Regions from separate parts of the Homo sapiens genome. Here region 2 is linked to region 1. The links are contacts of gene promoters, found by promoter capture Hi-C in human tissues and cell types (Jung and others, 2019). All regions are on one chromosome and are shown on one strand. The core of a region is centred on a gene start or on the middle of the fragment in contact, and the rest is flanking DNA. Distances in the headings are between cores, read along the strand shown. Region 1 holds the start of SIRPG (signal regulatory protein gamma). Region 2 has its middle 3.2 kb from the start of SIRPB2.

What was found. Contacts are between HindIII fragments. The study calls those that stand out against the background at their distance.
Region 2: a contact is called between a fragment that was not itself captured here and the fragment with the promoter of SIRPG in region 1, in 2 of the 25 tissues and cell types used here (H1 embryonic stem cells and spleen).

The regions. Positions count from the first base shown.
Region 1 is chr20:1,656,039-1,659,190 of GRCh38, reverse strand. It overlaps SIRPG (signal regulatory protein gamma), which reads left to right and starts at 1,412. Exons shown (of 6, transcript NM_018556.4): 1 at 1,412-1,549. The coding sequence starts at 1,477. The HindIII fragment of the contact is 12,235 bases long and covers 1-3,152 here.
Region 2 is chr20:1,492,799-1,496,495 of GRCh38, reverse strand. No RefSeq gene overlaps it. Among named protein-coding and RNA genes, the nearest start is that of SIRPB2, 3.2 kb to the right of the region's middle. The HindIII fragment of the contact is 3,719 bases long and covers 246-3,697 here.

The DNA of each region.
Region 1 (3,152 bases), core at 163-2,662:
TGGCTTTTCTAAGGCACAACGGTGGCAGAGAACCAGTGGACTCTTCCTGTACACAGAAAATAATTATAGCCATGTTTTTTTGCTTATAATTAATTATGAGTCAAGCATTCAGTATGGCTTATATTATTCCTACCATAGCTCTACAAGGTGCATATTCTAACATTTATTTACATACAATCAAACCAAGGCTCAGAGAAGTAGTGTCTTTTTGAAAATCACACAGCTGGAAATTGTAAGAGGAGGAATTAATCTATGGTTGAACAAGGAGCGGGATTTAGAGAATCCAGAGGGAGAAACTGATTTCAGGGTGGCAGCGAGAGTCCAAATACACTATATAAGCTGGGTCTCAGGAGGCCTGGGTTGCTGGGAGAAAGCCACTGGTGGGCAACTCAGCATGCAGGAGGGATCCATTCAAAAGCAACATTTGAGTTCCCGCACTTCACCTGGCACCGTGAGTATCAATAATGACCTACTGGGTTTCAGGCATGATATGCTCATTACCTCTTTAATCGTCACTAAAACACTGCACAAAAAGACTTACTATTCCCAGTTTAGGAGATTGAAACTGAGCATAGGAGGGCCCAGCGACTTCCCCAACTCCTTGGCACACACTCTTGGCAGGAGCATGGATTTTTCCTCTTTCCTCATTTCCCATCCGAACTCAGTGATGAATGAAATAGGTGCTCTGTGTGTAGAAGAAAGGGTATTGAAATTGATGCGACGGCCCCAGGAACCTGCCCACCATAATCTTCCCTCATGATAACCCTATCCCCTTTCCATAACCCACAATCCCCACCTCACTCCACAAAGCAGTTGCTTATTACCTCAAACCCAGTTTCTCTCCTGGAAGGAGTCAAGAAATAATTCCTTCTGCTGGGTGCAGGCACATGAAAGTGCTAAGGTCCACAAGAGACTGAATTTGGGCTAAGTGTTGCCAATTATAGCAATTTGGAATAGAAAATCATTTCAGGAGAAGATCTGGTTCCTCTCCAGTGTTGAGCAGGTCCTGTGAACTCTTCTCCTACGTCCAGCGGAGTGGCATTTGGTTGAGGCTGGTGCAGAACAAGACCACAAGCCAACCACATCCTAGGGTCTTGAAATAAAGACTTTAGAAAACAATACCTAACAACAGATCTTTCTTGACTTAAAAGCCTCAAATGGCAAATCACCAAGAAGACCTGAAAATGGGTTTGGGGACACGAGGAGGGAGCACAGGTCCCAGGCAGGCAGGAAGCATTATTTCTGCTAACCCTGTCTGATTATCCTGAAAATGGAGCACGATTAACTCCTTGCTTTGTAGCTGCCTACTGTGCCTGATTTGTAAGTCACAATCTAGAAGCAGGTTACTGTTGCATTCCATCATAGCCACTTCCTCTTGAATTGAGGGAGGCAGGGCTTGTCTTCTGTCTTCAGAGCAGGGCCTGACATCTCCCCAGAACAGACGTTTGAACAGAGCAGGCTTCTGAGGTCTCCAAAATGCCTGTCCCAGCCTCCTGGCCCCATCCTCCTGGTCCTTTCCTGCTTCTGACTCTACTGCTGGGACTTACAGGTGAGCATTGCATTGGGCTAGAACCCTTTCTCCCTGCTTCCTGGACCTAGCCTTGCCCCTGGACTTGCAGCAATTTCAGATAAGCACAAGCACTGCCAAGGAAGGTCAAGGACTGGACATTGTCCAAGAGCAGAAGATCAGGGAGCTGAGCACTTTCTCTGTGGATCTGCAGCTGGCTACCAGAGGCATCAAACCTTGTGAGGCTTCTGCCACCATCACAATTAGTTACATTTTTATAATATTTTATTTGACAAACACAGAAGAATCATTATTAAATCCTTACCTGTCTTGAGTCCTCCTACCCATTTTTGTGTGCCCTCCTCCTCTTTAAGAAGTTCCACATTTCATGCTTACAGCGTCCTATATTCCTTTCTTAGGGCTTCCACAACAAAGCACCACAGACTCAGTAACTAAAACAATAGACATTTACTTTCTTTCTTTCAGTTCTGGAGGCTGAATTGCAAAATCAAGATGCCAGCAGGGTTAGTTTCTACTGAGGTCTTTCTCCTTGGCTTGTAGAAGGCCATCTCCTCCATGTGTCTTGACACATGGTCTTCCTCTGTGTGTGTCTGTATTCTCATTTTCTCTTATGAGAACATCAGCCATATTGGATTAAGGCTCCCCGCCAGTGACCTCATTTAACTAAATTGCTTCACCCATTTATGCCTAGTGCTCCGTTATTGGATCACTAAGCTTGCGGGAGTTATTTATATCCTACTGCTCAAGGGCATCGCCAAGGTCTGATTTTTCAAATTAAAAAAAAATTGCAACCTCGGGCATAAATGGGTTAAAGACCTTGTCTCCAAATATGGTCAAATTCTAAGGCGCTGGGGATTGGGGCTTCAACCCATTCGTTTTGGGGGCACATTCAGCCCATAACAGGCACCACCATCTCCCTTGGTCATCTTGACTTTCCTCTGGAGAATTTATTTTCCCTTCCCCCAGGCAGACAGGATTGGGAGGTCTTTCCTGGTGCCACCTGAGAGAGCCCTGTTCACAGCTCCCAGACAGGCTGCCTGTCTTCACCCCTTTTTCAGACCATGCAGCTGACCCCCGGTCACAGGGCTGGGCACAATAGCCTCTCAGTTGCCCACTGGGCCCTGCTGTGATGTCATCTCACAGGTCTTAGAGGGCAAGGTCTCACTTTTCAAATTATTTTTTTTACACATACACTGTACCCAAATGACAGCAGTAATAGTTCAGCAATTGCTCTCTTCCTGTAAGGCAGATGCACTTCTTAGCATTTTGTGTGTATTAAGTCAACTAATCCTCACAGCATCCCTGTGTGGAAGCTATAACTCTTGTGCTCTATTTGCAAATGGGGAGTGAGGCAGAGGCAGGAACCTGTTCATTGTCCCCTACTTCAGTCCATGGAGCAGTTGGGATCAAGTCCAGGTTGACCAGTTCCAGAGTTTATCACCCTTTTAACCATGTTATGCTATGTGTAGAAATATTAGAAAATGCAGGCAAGCAAACATTAGATTAATAATCACCCATCACACCAGTCAGAAACAATCAGAGGTAAAACACTAGTGTATGTATGTTTTCCCAAAATGTTAAAAATGTGTTGGATGGTTTCTATGTGCCAAATATTTTACTGAGA
Region 2 (3,697 bases), core at 856-3,355, 160 kb after region 1:
GAGGTCAGGAGTTTGAGACAAGCCTGGCCAACATGGTGAAACACCATCTCTACTAAAAATACAAAAATTAGCTGGACGTGGTGGTGGGTGCCTGTAATCCCAGCTACTCGGGAGGCTGAGGCAGGAGAATCACTTGAACCCAGGAGGCGGAGGTTGCAGTGAGCCGAGATCATGCCACTGGACTCCAGCCTGGGCAACTGAGAGAGACTCCGCCTCAAAAAAAAAAAAAAAATCACAACAGAAATCAATGAAATGGAAATAAAACAACACAAAGGATCAATGAAACAAAAAGTTGGCTTTTTGAAAAGTTAAACAAAATTTACAAACCTTTAGCCAGACTAAGAAAAAAAGCAAGAAGATCCAAATAAAATCAGCAATGAAAAAAGAGACATCACAACTGATACTGCAGAAATTCCAAGCATCATTAGGAGCAACTTTATGCCAATAAATTGGAAAATCTAGAAAGAATAAACAAATTCCTAGACACATACAACCTACCAAGATTGAACCATGAAGAAATCCAAAACCTGAACAGACCAGTATTAAGTAACGAGATTGAAGCTATAATAAAAAGTCTCCCAGTAAAGAAACAGTGGCTTCACTGCTGAATTTTACCAATCATTTAAAGAAGAACTATTACCAATCCTACTCAAACTATTCCAAAAAATAGAGGAGGAGCGAATACTTCCAAACTCATTCTATGAGACCGGTATTACCCTGATGCCAAAACCACATAAAAACACATAGAAAAAGGAAAACTGCAGACCAATATCTCTAATGAATATTGTTGCAAAAAATCCCAACAAAATATTAGTAAACTGAATTCAACAATACATTAAAAAGCTCATTCATCATGACCAAGTGGGATTTATTCCTGGGATGCAAGCATCAAGGATAGTTCACCATACACAAATCAATAAATGTGATACATCATATCAACAGAATGAAGGACAAAAACCATATGACCATTTCAATTGATGCTGAAAAAGCATTTGATAAAATGTAACATCCCTTCATGATAAAAAAATCCTCAAAAAAACTGGATTTAGGAGGACTATACCTCAACATAGTACAACCCATATATGACAAACGCACAGCTAGTATCGTACTGAATGAGGGAGACTGAAAGCCTATCCTCTAAGACCTGGAGCATGACAAGGATGCCCATTTTCACCACTGTTATTCAGTGTAGTAATGGAAGTCCTAGCTACAGCAATCAGAGAAGAGAAAGAAAAAAATGGCATCCAAATTGTAAAGGAAGAAGTCAGATTATCCTTGTTTGCAGATGATATGCTCTTATATTTGGAAAAACCTAAAGACTCCAAAAACAGGCAAAACTAATCTATGGTGATAGAAATCAGAGGTGGCTGCCTCTGGGGCCAGAGATTGAATGGAATGAAACAAGAAGGAACTTTCTACATCTTGGGGTGGTTATTACACAGATGTATATGGATGTAAAAGTCTAAAAATTCACTGAACTGCACATTTAAATGTTTGTGCCTTTTTCTGTATGTAAGTCAGAACTCCATAAAAATTTAAAACAAAAACACCAAAAAGCAAGCCATGGGATTTGACATGAAACAGGAAAAGGGAGTAAGAAAGGCAAACCAAGCCACAAGGCAGGACAAATTGCCAATAGCAGAAAATCAAGTTCGAGGACCTTAGAGACTTTAGTATTGAGACACTAAATGCTTCCTCCTAAATGAAAAGAGAAGAAATGAGGCTGGATGACTTTTGTGTTCGGTCATAAAAAGCCATGCTTGGTTCTCATGGGACTTGTGGCATTTGGTGTTTACAGACCATCGGAAATCCTCACTGCTTTATCTCTCAAGTTCACTGGTAGCTCTTGGAAAATCAGGAATCTGAGAGACTCACAGAAACTGCTGCTAATGATGCCAGCTGCCTGTGCTTTAGAGGTGATTTATAGAAGACAGGCAGCACTGCAAAACCTCACATTTGCATAAATTAAATCCACCAATTCTCACGTATCTGCCCCCTCTTCATGGCTAGAGAAGCAAGCATGCCTCTCCTTTTACCTTCCAAATCTAAGCAAGAACCTCTCCTTGGTTCATTATTCTCTCCTAGAATAATGATGGTAAAGAGTTACAGAAAATGCAGTTCTTAGGCTTTTAGAACCTCCAAAAAAAGAGGAGAGCATAGAAAAAGTGGAGATAGATGCTGATTGCAAAGACACCAGTGTTGCTCTTTTTAAGACTGGTATTTACTTGATTGCTGCTAAGGTTGAACGCTTTCCCTGTGCTTGCTTAGTATGTTTTCCATTTTATGGTAAACAATCAAAAAGCTGTTGTTTTAACAAAGTTCCATTTTTGTAGTGGAAGGAAAAAAAGCTTTATGGGTAGACTTGTGTTCTATATATACCTCGGGTGCTCTTGTTGAGGATAACTTAACTCAGGCTAGTAATAGACACTATAGTTCATGTGATACCCAAGCACACTGACCAGGAGGAATGCCACTGTTCCTAGTTACTGAGCAATTATCGCAAGCCAGTGCTTCACGCGCAATCGCATTTCATGTGTTTTATAGATGACGTGACAGATATAACATTTTTAACTATTTCCTTTTGCATTTCTCCACCTCCCAGCAGTTTAATTCCTTCCCTGGAAGCTTTTTTCCTATTCTAAGCTGGAGTGTGAGACTTGCTGTCTTGAGGAAGGGGCAGGAGGGATTCCATCTAGAACAAAGAAGGCCAGCTGTTAGGAAGAAGACTGAGATTAGGAAAGTCCCTACCAGAAGGAAAAGAAGGGGAACTCCTCCCCTTATGACTTGGTGAGGAAGTAAGAAAAAGAGGGAGAAGACAGGGGTTGAGATGCTAGAGTCCTGCCAACCCCACAGTCCTGAGGTCCAAATGCTGGGGTGGGGTGGGAATGGAGTTTAGGGATTCCTACAGCATAAGGGATCATGGCCTGTCTTCCCAGGGTGTTCATAGTCCACGACATCACAAAGAAACCATATTCAACCTGGCTTCTGAGCACTAGATCAGAAACAGTAAAGGAAATGAATGTCTTCAAAAACTGGTGACTGTGGTTAACCCTAAGGAAAGTAATGTCTGGGAGCCCTATAAATGAGACACTGAGACCTCTGAATTTTGTACCTGTAGATGCCCATGGCAGATAAATCACAAAAATATCCACAATTCTATACCCCCTCTTTGTATCCACACCTTTTGCAATTAGGCTTTGCAGTTCCCTAACAAGAGGCAAAGTCTATTTTCCATTCCTTGAATCTTGTCTGGTCTTGTAACTTGATGTGGCCAAAAGAATATGGCAGAAGTTTCCTTGTACCTTGCACTGTCTCTCAAAACTGCCCCTTTCATGAGAACAAGACTAAGTTAGTGTCCTGGAAGATGAGAGACCACATAGAGGACAGCTGAGGTACCTGGGTTAACAATCAGTCAACCGCAGTAACAAAGCCACCTAGCCAACCTGCAGCTGACCTCAAGTGCATGAACATTCCCAGCCAAAATCTGCTGAGATGAGAAGACCGAACCACCAAATGGAGCCCTGACTGAATTGTCAACCCACAAAATAGTAAATTAACTGAACATTTAGTTTTTAAGCTTCTAAATTTTGGGGTGCTTTGTTATGCAGCAATAGCTAACCAATACAATGCCTTGCCTATTAAAATAAAATTATTTGTAAGTAAAACTTTAGAAAAAAACAATAGCTGAGAAAGAAAT